Linked DNA regions of Homo sapiens: region 1 is linked to region 2. Evidence: promoter capture Hi-C in human tissues and cell types (Jung and others, 2019). All regions are on one chromosome and are shown on one strand. Each heading gives the region's core, a stretch centred on a gene start or on the middle of the fragment in contact. The rest is flanking DNA. Distances are from core to core; before and after follow the strand shown.

Evidence for each region. Contacts are between HindIII fragments. The study calls those that stand out against the background at their distance.
Region 1: a contact is called between a fragment that was not itself captured here and the fragment with the promoter of HELZ2 in region 2, in 1 of the 25 tissues and cell types used here (pancreas).

What each region holds. Positions count from the first base shown.
Region 1 is chr20:63,924,919-63,931,425 of GRCh38, reverse strand. DNAJC5 (DnaJ heat shock protein family (Hsp40) member C5) reads right to left here. Exons shown (of 5, transcript NM_025219.3): 2 at 2,974-3,091; 3 at 1,901-2,114; 4 at 404-575. The coding sequence starts at 3,080. Among named protein-coding and RNA genes, the nearest start is that of MIR941-5, 8.3 kb to the right of the region's middle. The HindIII fragment of the contact is 6,255 bases long and covers 1-6,149 here.
Region 2 is chr20:63,572,917-63,579,072 of GRCh38, reverse strand. HELZ2 (helicase with zinc finger 2) reads left to right here and starts at 4,834. Exons shown (of 20, transcript NM_001037335.2): 1 at 4,834-4,889; 2 at 5,852-6,156. RefSeq lists silencers at 3,215-3,400, 4,510-4,789, 5,430-5,489 and an enhancer at 3,998-4,725. The HindIII fragment of the contact is 13,109 bases long and covers 269-6,156 here.

The DNA.
Region 1 (6,507 bases), core at 1,773-4,272, 350 kb before region 2:
GCCTGGCGCGCACCCAACGCTGGTCCTGTGGAGCGACTTTCGGGCACCTGGACAAACTCTCCACCGGGAGAGGCTACTCGCTGACCTCCACCCCACACGGCTTTCCTCCGTCGCCTTGGGTCACCGCCAGCCCTCGGCCCTCAGCCCCGCCCCAACTGCCTGCCGCCCTGCCCCGCCTCGCAGTCCCTGGGATCTACGGCTACCGCAGGTCACGGCGGGGACAGCTCTATGCGCCTGCTTTACCTCAGGGTCCACGTTCACACCTCAACAGTCCCAGCTGCCACCACAAACACTCGCGGCACAGTGTCAGTGCCCTCCTGTTTGACAAGACAGGTTGACACCATTCAGGGCCCATTCTGGCTCTGCCCCACACACACACACGGGCCCTGGGGCGGGCACTCACCCCTCTCGTCAGACTGCAGCTGTGCCTCCAGATCCTCGGGGGACACGTAGAACTCCGTCTCCTCGCCTTCAGGCGCCTTGGGCTTACACTTCCCGCAGCAGCAGTTGAAGCAGCAGCACAGACAGCAGCAGCAGTAGCAGCACGTGAGGAGGCCGCAGAAGACAAACAGGGCCTGGGGGGAGAAGAAGGTGGTGTTGCATGGCCTCCGAGGCCCCTGGAGAGGGAGGCGCAGGACTCCCAAATGCCCTCAGCAGAAGGCAGGGGGTGCGTTCCAGGTGGGGATACTGCCTTCCAGACAGGAAGCAGAAGGAAAGAACTGAAGAAGGGAGGAGGAGAGACAGAAAGAAACCCGCAGCTTAAAGAAAAGCAGCCTCCAAGACGGGCGTGGTGGCCCATGCCTGTCATCCCAGCACTCCAGGAGGCCGAGGCTGGCGGATCACGAGGTCAGGAGATCGAGACCATCCTGGCTAACACGGTGAAACCCTGTCTCTACTAAAAATACAAAAAATTAGCTGGACGTGGTGGCGGGCACCTGTAGTCCCAGCCACTCGGGAGGCAGAGGCAGGAGAATGGCGTGAACCCGGGAGGTGGAGCTTGCAGTGAGCCAAGATCGCGCCACTGCACTCCAGCCTGGGAAACAGAGCGAGACTCCGTCTCAAAAAAAAAACAAAGCAGCCTCCAGGCTGGGCACAGTGGTTCACGCCTCAACTCCTGCAGTTCTGGAGCTGAAGTGGGAGGATCACTTGAACCCAGGAATTCAAAGTTAAAGTGAGCCAGGATCTCACCACAGCACTCCAGTCTGGGCAACAGAGCGAGACTCTGTCTAACATTAACTAAATAAAAAGTACTTTATAAGGATTCTAGTGAGGAGGCCGACCAGTCAAAGCCAAATACAGGCTTCTCACAAATGCCATGCAGTGATTCCAACCCTCTGGCCTCATATATGACATTTGGAACAAAACGAGGAAACGAAGAAATGCGGATGTAACATCGAGGCTTATTTCCTCCTGTCTCACGAAGGACTGGGAGCCATTTACAGAAGAAACCCTGGCGGCTCCGCACGGCTCTTCCCTGGGACAATCTGTACGCTATGGCTTGTTCCAGGCAGGACACCAAGCCAGTGACAGAGCTTCGCCCATCACACAGGTGAGGAGAAAGGCTCCATATGCCCAGAAGCCTTTTCTCAGGAGTGTAGAGTTGCTGGCATCAACGCATGGGCTCTGCAATGCTGGGAACCCTGCAGGCGTGGAGTGACCCGGGTGCCCACATGGCAGGAGAGACTCGGGTGCCCGCACGGCAGGAGTGACTCGGGCGCCCGCACGGCAGGAGTGACTCGGGTGCCCGCACGGCAGGAGAGACTCGGGTGCCCGCACGGCAGGAGAGACTCGGGTGCCCGCACGGCAGGAGTGACTCGGGTGCCCGCACGGCAGGAGAGACTCGGGTGCCCGCACGGCAGGAGTGACTCGGGTGCCCGCACGGCAGGCAGCTCGCCCTCACCTTGGCCCACCAGCTGGACAGCACGAAGTAGGTGTTCACGTTCTCTTCCCCAAACTGCTCGGCCACGTAGAGACCCAGCGAGCCGTACTTGTCGTAGATGTTCCTTTTTGTGGCGTCCGTGAGGATGGCGTGCGCGTTGTTGATCTCCTTAAACTTGTCCGCGGCCTCCGGGTTGTCGGGGTTCTTGTCGGGGTGATATTTCAAGGCAAGCTTCCTGCAAACCAAAACCATGTCCTGGCTCTACCCTGGACTTTGTTCCACCCGCACCCGCCGCCGCGTCCATCCCACCCGCACGCACTGCCGGGTGCAGTGGAAGGCAGGTCCACCCAGGCCACCTCACTGTCCGACTCTCCAGGGCTGCAGGGGCCAGGGACAAAAGCAAGCTCCGCGGTTGTTTCAGGTAAACCTCCTCACCCTGACCCAGCCTCAGAGGAGGGAGCCCCAAGGGCTGTGAGTGCCACGGCACATCTAAGTTCAGCGGCACCAAGGCCAGCCCTGGTGTCCCAGCCGCTAACTGCACAAGTGCCAAGTGAACGGTAAGCACGGCGGGGCGTAATGATGGCACTTTAAGAAGTGTTTTATGAACTACACGATGCTAGCACACGAGAGGAGGACTATCTGAATTGTCTGGATTAGTGATGGTGTCTCTTACAGGTTACTCAATGAAACTGTACCCAAGAGTGCAGTTCTTCAAGCTCAATCAGAAGGCCACAACAGAGTGAGGGGTCTCTGTCATCACTGTGCTAAAACAAGGAGACCACAGGACCATGCCAGCGCTCTGCGGCTCCTGTGAGGCCTCAAACAGGTTCAGACCCTGACTCCCTATGGAACTGTGGACAGTGTGTCAGTTTCTACTAAGTGCTATTTTTTGTTGGCAAGAGAACATGAATACCATAACTTTAAGCTATAAGGAGCACATTACACATACAAAGGTGTTACCGAGCTGTGACCAGTTCAACGCTGAGTCGGCCAGGATAAAGTATGTGCAATGGTTCTTGGTAAAATGCAGACTAAACCACACGGGGCATGTGTGTCTTCCTGGGGGGATGTGGGGGCCACACTTGTCCACTTACCGATAGGACTTTTTAATGTCATCTGAGGTTGCGTTCTTGTCCAACCCAAGGACGTGGTACAATGACTCCCCAGAGGTAGACAGTGAGCGCTGTCTCTGGTCTGCCATGTTAGGCTATTCTAGAAGAAAAAATAAAAAGAAAGTATCACAAAGTATAGATGAAAGTACCAAGGGCAGAGCTGATGGACTTTATTCCATAAGACCGTTCAAAGCAAAAGAATCCAACACTGCCTTGTGGAGTTTGCCACGTGCACAGACAGACGCCATGGCATGGAGAAGTGTGAGACGGCAGAATACGGCCACCCCAAGAGATCCTGAAGAACTGCAGCTGTGTACTGTGGGCCGGCACAGGGGCTCACACCTGTAGTCCCAGCATTTTGGGAGGCTGAGGCGGGAGGACCGCTTGAGCCCAGGAGTTTGAGGCTGCAGTGAGCTATGATCACTCCACTGCACTGGAGCCCAGGAGACAGGGACCCTGTTCCTTAAAAACAAATATATAAATAAACAAAATAAATTAATTAATTAAAATAAACATGCATATTGTAATCCTTACAGCAACCTCTGCATAAAAAATGCAAAGAGGTATAAGCTAAAAAGTTACAAGAAAAATGAAAAAGTAACTCAACACAGGAAACAAATAGAAAATTAGTTGGAAGATCTAAATCCAAACATATCAACAATTAAATTCAATGTTAGTGGACAAAAAACTCCAATTAAAGTAAGGGACTGACAGAATGGATAAAAATGCAAGACCCAACTTTAATTTTAATACTTTCTCAGAAATCGACAGAACAGACCAAAAATCAGGAAAAACATCGATGTTCTGAACAACACTATCAACCACCATGACCTGATCTTCACAGAACACCCAACATCTAGAGAACACACAGTTTCTTTCTTTCTTTTTTGGGGGGGGGGACAGTTTTGCTCTTGTTGCCCAGGCTGGAGTGCAATGGCACGATCTCGGCTCACCACAACCTCCGCCTCCCCGGTTCAAGCAATGCTCCTGCCTCAGCCTCACACAGGAGTAGCTGGGATTACAGGCATGTGCCACCACACCCAGCTAATTTTGGTATTTTTAGTAGAGATGGGGTTTCTCCATGTTGGCCAGGCTGGTCTTGAATTCCCGACCTCAGGCTGAACTCCCGACCTCAGGTGATCCGCCTGCCTCAGCCTCCCACAGTGCTGGGGTTATAGGTGTGAGCCACAGCGCCTGGCAAATACACATTGTTTCTACATTGTTTCTAACTAATCAACCACCATGACGTGACAGTCACAGAACACCCAACATCTAGAGAACACACATTGTTTTTAACTGAATGCTGTACACTAAGACAAGCCACATGTTAGGGCTTCAAGCTGGTTTCAATAAACGTAATGGAATGAGGTCACACACAGCACTATCCCTGACTTAGCTACAAACTGGAAACCCAGGAGGAAGATACTCTTGATATTCAACAACACACCTCCGGCTAACATGTAGCTCAAAGAAGAAATCCCAGGGGAACTTAGAAAATGTTTTGAATTGAATAATAAATACAGTGTACATGACGGTTAATTTCATGTCTCCTTTGCTGCATCGTGGGGCACCCAGATGAAACATGACTTCAGGGTGTGCCTGGGAGGGTGTTTCTTGGTAAGAGCAGCACCTGAGCTGGGGGCTCCATGAAGCCAACTGCGCTGCCCTGTGCAGGTGAGTGTCGTCCCAGTCCACGGGGGTCCCGAATAGAAAGGGGTGGGAGGAGGAGTTGGCCTGGGTTTTCCTTCTCGCCTGCCAGCCTGAGCGGGGCCACGTGTCTCCTCCTGTCCTTGGACTGTTATTATCCCACTGCTTTCCTCAATCTTCAGCAAATGGCAGAGCATGAGATTCCGTCTCCATAATGACGTGGGCCAATTCCTCATAACAAATCTCCTTTAGAAAGAGACACAGATAATGGCAACGTTCCTCTGCAGAATGCTGACTAGTACAACACGTTAATCAAGGCCTAAGGCTCCGCCTCAGGAAGCTACAAAGTAACAGGATAAACCCAACATAAATGCAAGCAAGGAAATCATAAGGAACAGAAATCCATGAAAACAAACAGATAACTTCAACAAAGCCAAAAGAGTTGGTTCTTTGAGCAACATGAGGAAAGACATCACTACAGATCCTAGAGGCGTGAAAAGGATAAAATACGAACAACTTCATGCCAAGAAATTAGAAAAATTAGATGAAATGGACAAATATCTTGAAAATTACAATTTACCAAGACTGACATGAAATAGAAAATCTGAATAGGCCTGCATCTGTTAATAAAGTTATATTTGTAATAAAAAATCCCCAGAAGGCCAGGCGCCGTGGCTCACGCCTGTAATCCCAGCACTTTGGGAGGCCAAGGCGGGCAGATCACGAGATCAGGAGATTGAGACCATCCTGGCTAACACAGTGAAACCCCATCTCTAATAAAAATACAAAAAAATTAGCCGGAAGTGGTGGCAGGCACCTGTAGTCCCAGCTACTCGGGAGGCTGAGGCAGGAGAATGACGTTAACCCGGAAGGCGGAGCTTGCAGTGAGCAGAGATCGCACCACTGCACTCCAGCCTGGGCGACACAGCGAGACTCCGTCTCAAAAAAAAAAAAAAAAAAAACCAGATAAAATTCCAGGCCCAGATTTTTTTTTTAACCAAATATTTAGGAAATGACATCAATATGGGGTTTTGAGATAGTCTCGCTTTGTTGCCCAGGCTGGAGTGCGGTGACGCGATCTCGGTGATACTGGCAGGAGGCAGCTGAATGCCAGGCAGATGGGGCGGGTTCCCGGTGAAACCCACCTCCAAGCCAAAGACAGTTTAAAGCCTGACAGCTGAGCTACAAGTTAAATCCTCAGACTAGATGAAGAACTTGCCTTCCTGTTTGCCACACTTTCCTCTGATTGATCCCCATCCTTCACCTATTTTACACATACCTACCCTTTCCTAATTTTTATTTTTGAGGTGGAGTCTCGCTCTGTTTGCCCAGGCTGGAGTGCAGTGGTGTGACCTCAGTTCACTGCAATCTCTGCCTCCCGGGTTCAAGCGATTCTTCTGCTTCAGCCTCCCAAGTCACTGGGACTACAGGCACGCGAACCACGCCCAGGTAATTTTTGTATTTTTAGTAGAGATGGGGTTTCACCACATTGACCAGGATGGTCTTGAACTCCTGACCTTGTGATCCGTCTGCCTCAGCCTCCTAAAGTGCTGGGATTACAGGCGTGAGCCACCGTGCCCGGCCTCTTATAATTGGTTTTCTACACTGTCATGCCCACTTTAACCTTTTCTGCATACTCACAAACCCATCAGCAAGCTCTGCAAGCACTCCGCATCCTGAGTCCATAAAAAGCCCCAGACCCAGCCACACAGGCGGACTTTCCTGCCTTCAGGTAGGGGAACCACCCCTGCATCCCCTGGTCCGCTGAAAGCTGTTTCACTGCTCAATAAAGTTCTTCTCCGCCCTCCTCACCCTTCAATGTCCAGTGTATCCTTGATCTTGAGTGCGGTACATGAGCTCGGGAATGGC
Region 2 (6,156 bases), core at 3,585-6,084:
AGGAGGCCTCCCGGCTGCACGGCTCCCACAAGGCCAAGAGGAGGAGATCTGAAATCGGCTCCACTCCCTCCCACTGCAGACCCTATCACCTCCTCCACTAGGGGTGTGAGCTTTTGGCTGGTGGGAGGGCGCCCGGGAGGGTCTCTGGAAAGATGGGAACCGGGTGTTAAAGACCTGCTTAAGCGAGTTATACCCAGAGGCCGTCAGTTCCTGCCCGAGAGCACATGGCCCACAGTCACAGGTAAACTGAGGCCTGGCCCTAAGCCCTGGGGACCTCCACCTGCTTCGTGACGCTGGGGACAGTGTGTACGTTTTCCTGCAGGGTTCAGGTGATGGCAGACGGCAGAGGGCAGCAGACGGCAGGCTGGCACTGGGGGGCCATGGAACCCACTGGCAGGGACGCTGGGTGAGGAGGACCTAGGGACCGGGATGAGACAAGCTGAGGGTGTTGGGCAGACATTTCTTACTTTGTATTTTGATATAATAATTTAAACAAACGTACACAAATGTTGCAAAAATAGAACAAAGGACTCCCTGTGCTCTATGCGGACTCACCAGTCGCTTTGTTCTGGCCCATTTGCCGGTTCTGTAGAAGCCTGTAGTTCCAGGCAATTGAGACTAAGACACGATACCCCTTCACCTTTCAGATACGATACCCCTTCACCCTTCACCCTTCACCCTTTACCCCATCACTTCAAGGTGTGTTTCCTCAGAACGTGGAAGCTGTCTGTTACAAAGTCAGGAAGCTGACGTGGATACAATAATATTACTAATACTCAGCCCGTGTGAGCGTGTTGTTGGCCGTGTGCTGTGTGTACGTGGAACTCTCTCCCGTGGTCTCACACTCAGCCCGTGTGAGCGTGTTGTTGGCCGTGTGCTGTGTGTACGTGGAACTCTGTCCCGTGGTCTCACACTCAGCCCGTGTGAGCGTGTTGTTGGCCGTGTGCTGTGTGTACGTGGAACTCTGTCCCGTGGTGTCACACTCAGCCCGTGTGAGCGTGTTGGCCGTGTGCTGTGTGTACGTGGAACTCTCTCCCGTGGTCTCACACTCAGCCCGTGTTAGGGGTCACTGTGGCCTGAGCACAGCTGGACGGGAGCCAGAGAGCTGTCCACGGCAACCTGCAGGTTTTCAATGCTCTGTGGACTCGAGGTGGCACTTTTTGTTTTTGTTTTGAGTTAAGAAGACGTGCACAGATGTGAAAGGTGGGCGGAAACAGGACATCTCCCTCCTGTCCTGGCCGCACAGTCCTGATCTGTCTCCCAGGCTGGAGTGCACTGGCACCATCACAGCTTACTGAGGTCTTGAACTCCTGGGCTCAAGTGATCCTCCCGCCTCAGCCTACCAAATTGCTGGGATCACAGGTGTGAGCCACCGTGCCTGGCCAACCTCATTTTTAATGGCCTTAGAGTCTTCCATGGCACAGGGTGGAGACTGCCCATTACATAGACCCTGAGCGAGGGGCCCTGGGCATTCCCGGTCCATTGGGTGTAGAAGGAGCTGCCGGGAGCTGTTGGTGGGCACAGATGTCCCTCTGTGCAGGAGCCTCTGTGGAGCCACGTGGAAGGCGCGTGTCCTGTGCTCCCGGGCCTGGCTGGTTTCCAGAGCGGTGCTGCCAGTTTAGACTCTGGCCGAGTGCCTGCAATGTCAGAGGGGTGGACGGGTTGTCTGGGGCTGGTTTGCGTTTCCCTTACGCCGAGGTTGAACACTTCACTCCATTTACAGCAATTTCACTTTCCACGTTTTGTGAAGTATTGATTTGCATCCTTTGCCTATTTTTCTTTTAAATTATACATCTTTTTCTTAATTTATAAGATCTTTAAAATATTAGAGAGATCAGGGCCAGGCGCGGTGGCTCACGCCTGTAATCTCAGCACTTTGGGAGGCCGAGGTGGGTGGATCACGAGGTCAGGAGATCGAGACCATCCTAGCTAACACGGTGAAACCCCGTCTCTACTAAAAATGCAAAAAATTAGCCAGGCGTGGTGGTGGGCGCCTGTAGTCCCAGCTACTTGGGAGACTGAGGCAGGAGAATGGCGTGAACCCGGGAGGTGGAGCTTGCCGAGATTGTGCCACTGCACTCCAGCCTGGGTGACAAGAGTGAGACTCCGTCTCAAGAAAAAAAAATATATATCAGAGCGATCAGACTTTTCACTGTGACATAAGCTGCAATTTTGTTTTCTGTTCATGTTTGGTTTTTGACTCCTTTGATGGTGGTGTTTTTTTCCATGTGAAATTGTTTTGTGTCATTGAATTTATCACTGTTGTGCTGGTAGATGTTTAATTCGTTCTCTAAGAAGAAAAAAACAGTGCTTCAGGAGACAGGTTTTGTGGATTTCTGGGGTGTATGCTTGCCCCTCACGGCATGTGTGAAGCCACCAGCCCTGTCCTTGAGCCTGGCTGGGGGCGAGTGGCGCAGGGCTGGATTTCACCTAGAAAGGCCTTTCACATCCCAAGAGTCCTGAGAATCAGACACTTTCAGCCCTGGTTTCTCCTAGTGCCTCTGTGGTTGGCTTTTCCTTCCGTGAGAGTGTTTGATTATTTCATATGGTGTAAGATGCTACGCAGAGACCGTCCCTCCCATTTTTGTTTCCAGATGCTGCTAATCAGTTGTTCTAATAATTTGTGGAATGCATCAATGAATTGTTTTTCCCTGAGGTGTGAGAGCCAAGCTTTCTTTTCTTTTCTTTTCTTTCTTTTTTTTTTTTTTTGAGACAGAGTCTCGTTCCGTCTCCCAGGCTGGAGTGCAATGGTGTGATCTCAGCTTACTGCAACCTCCGCCTCGCCCCCCCCGACCCCAGGTTCAAGGGATTCTCCTGCCTCAGCCTCCTGAGTAGCTGGGACTACAGGCACCTGCCACCACGCCCAGCTATTTTTTTTTTTTTTTTTTGTATTTTTAGAAGAGATGGGGTTTCACTATGTTGGCCAGGCTGGTCTCGAACTCCTGACCTCAGGTGATCTGCCCACCTTGGCCTCCCAAAGTGCTGGGATTACAGGCGTGAGCCAGTGCGCCTGGCCGAGAGCCAATCTTTCATCCCACCCCAGACTCCTGAGTGTGACTCTATTTCTGGACTCTCTGTTCTGCCTTGGAACTGTGTGTCCACACCGGGTTCAGTGGCTTTGCAGTGTGTTATGTGTTTAGTAAGTCATGCCAGCACCCGCTGGGAATCCTTTTTAGTCATCATCCTGGGCTGGGTGTTGGGATTCAAGCCTGTAATCTAATCCCGGCACTCAAGGAGGCCGAGGTGGGGGGTTTGCTTGAGCCCAGGAGTTCAAGAGCAGCCTGGGCAACATTGAGAAACCCCATCTCTGAAAAACATAGAAAAAACTCCAAAATAGTTAACTGTGGTGGTGTGCACCTGTACTGTGGTGGTGTGTGCCTGTAGTCCCAGCGACTCAGGAGGCTGAGGGGGGAAGACTGTCTGAGCCAGAGGTCGAGGCTGCAGTGAACTGTGATTGCATCACTGCACTCCCGCCGGGGCAATGGAAGGAGACTCAGTCTCAAAAAAAAAAAAAGCCCTGTCCAGCCTTTCTTGGTGATGTGATGCTTTTCCAAATGGACTTGAAAGTCAGTGTGTCCACCATGCGACTGCAGGTTAGTTTAGGAGGAACTCACGTCTTTGTGTGGTGTTGAGCCTCTCCATCCAGGAACACAGCGTTCCACACAAATTCTCCCAGCGTTCCACGCACATGGACCCTGCTCAGCGCCCGGCCCCTGGGGCTGCTATTGTCGAGGGCCTGCCCTCTCCCAGGAGCTCCAACGTGATTGGTCTGCGGAGAGGCTCCCTGGTGGTTGACGGCCCACCCAGCCGACCTCCCGAGGTCGCTGTGAGCCCCCAGCCTGGCCCTCCCCACGAGGTGCTGGCCTTGGGTGGCAGCCTTGCTTCCTTGTTTCAGGGGCAGCATCACTGTCCGTTATCTACTGCTGCAGAACAGATCGCCCCAAAGCTCAGGGGCTTAAAACAACACAGATGTTTATTTTATTTATTTATTTGTTTTGAGATGGAGTCTTGCTCTGTTGCCCAGGCTGGAGTGCAGTGGCGCAATCTTGGCGCACTGCAACCTCCACTTCCTTGGTTCAAGCAATGCTTCTGCCTCAGCCTCCCGAGTAACTGGGACTACAGGCGCCCGCCCCCACCCCTGGCTAATGGGACGTTTATTTTAAACATAGACATCTAACAGCTGGGCGTGGTCTAGGTGGGAGGGTTAGGCCTGGGGTCTCCCTGAGATGGCAGTAAGGCTGGGGCTGGGACTCGAGCTGCAAGTGGGCTGGAGGCCTCAGCTCCTCTATGGGGCCTCCCCACAGGGCTGCTGAGGGCCCAGAGCCAGTCCAGAGAGCCAAGAGCCAGGCGTGCTGACTCTGGGACCCGGCGGCCACTTAGCCATTCCTGCCATATCCTGGTTGGTGACAGAAGGGACTTGGGGTCCCAGCAGCACCAGGGCCACGGGCAGGTCCTGCCTGTCAGGGGACCCAGGCTTCCAGGTCAGCTGTGCCTGGATTTCTCCAGGGGCTGATGGTGGAGTCACCAGACCATCCTGCCGTCCAGGGCCGGGCAGGGTCTCACCCCTTCCGCCTGGCACATCATCGGGGCGTCTCTGGTGTGTGAAGGGCTGGACGGGGCGTGGGGCCCTGGAGGGGTGCGGGAAAGGACCCCCACCCCCAGCCGCCTCCGCCTTCGACGGCGCTGGCCCTTCAGGGAGGGGCGTCCTCTGCTCGCTGGCGCTTCCCGAGGTTCCCTCGCAGCGGGGGCCGAGCTGTCGCTGGAGGCGGGGCAGGGCGGGGCGGGGCGGGGGGCGGTGAGGTAATTTCCGCGATCAGCGTCAGTGCCCGGGCCAGAATCGAAACTGAGAGCTCCTGGGCAGGCTCGGCAGGGCAGGCAGCTCCAGGAGGGTGAGCGCGGGGGTCCCAGGGCGGAGGGGCGGGGGCGCGGGGGTCCAGGGGCGGCTCCAGGAGGGTGAGCGCGGGGGTCCCAGGGTGGCGGGGCCGGGGGCGGAGGGGGGGGTCCGGGAGGGTGAGTGCAGCCGGGGGCGCGGAGTCCCGGGAGCCACAGACCCAGCCCGGGGCAGTGCAGCCCGTCCAGGACCAGCACCCTCCGCAGCAAGACCCAGCGCTGTGGTCTCTGCACCCACTGGAGCGCAGGATTTTGGGGTCTCGGCTCCCGTCCTTTCTGGATGGCAGACTCGGATGTTTTCTCAGAGGGGTCCGCGGGGAGTGCCGGGTTCTCATACTGAAGTCTGCCTCCAGTCTGTTGCTTTTAAACTTACTCTTCTTGTAGCATCCCAGCTGCGGTGGGGACCCGGGGACCCATCTCTTCCTGGCACCCTGAGCTCTGGTGGGCACTGTACCCTCCTCTCCGTGAGGCCCCTCCCCAGGTGCAGATGTGGAGTCCTCTTTTCCTGGGGGCCAGTGGTCATTCAATAGAAAAGGAGGTGCTGTGTCCTTAGAAGAGTCAGGAGCCTGAGGCCCTGGGGTGCACAGGACCCCTGGCTGGGGCAGAGGGGTGCGGCCTCCTGGGGGCGGCACTGTGCCAAGGGCTCTGCCCCCTCCAGGGCTCCACAAGCAGTCACCTTGGCTCCTTCTAGGTGGGGCCTGAGACCCTTCAGGAGGGAGGGTCTGGCTGTGTCCGGGTCAGTGAGCCCTGTACTCCCTGACAGGACACAGCTACTGCCAAGGCCTCCACTTGGGCGTCAGGGTGGGGAGAGTCCCAACTCCTTGCTTGGTGGAGAGGCCTCTGCTTGGGCATCAGGATAGGCAGATCCCCAGCTCCTTGCCTGGTGGAGAGGCCGTGCTTCTGAGCTGGGCCTGGACCAGATGTCCTCTGGCCTCAGTCTCACCTGCTCCTTCTGTCGCAGGCTTCGAACCGTGGCCAACAGTTCCAGTGGACTGCGTGGACCCGTGAGCTCAGGAGCCTCAGACGCCTCCCTGGAGAGCCAAGCTGGTGTTCGAGGTGGCGCCTCCAGGGTCCACCCTGCTGCCCAACAGCCCCGCGGCCACCAGAGGGCCGTCCCTGGCCCGGCTGTGTGCCCTGGTGGACCTGTGTCTGGGCTGCTCCCGCTGCACCCAGCGGCTCAATGAAAGCACCTACGTCCTCCGTAGGGTGGAGCATGACTGCTCCCGCGAGATCCTGCTGGCCCGCTTTAAGCAGGCCACCAAGAGC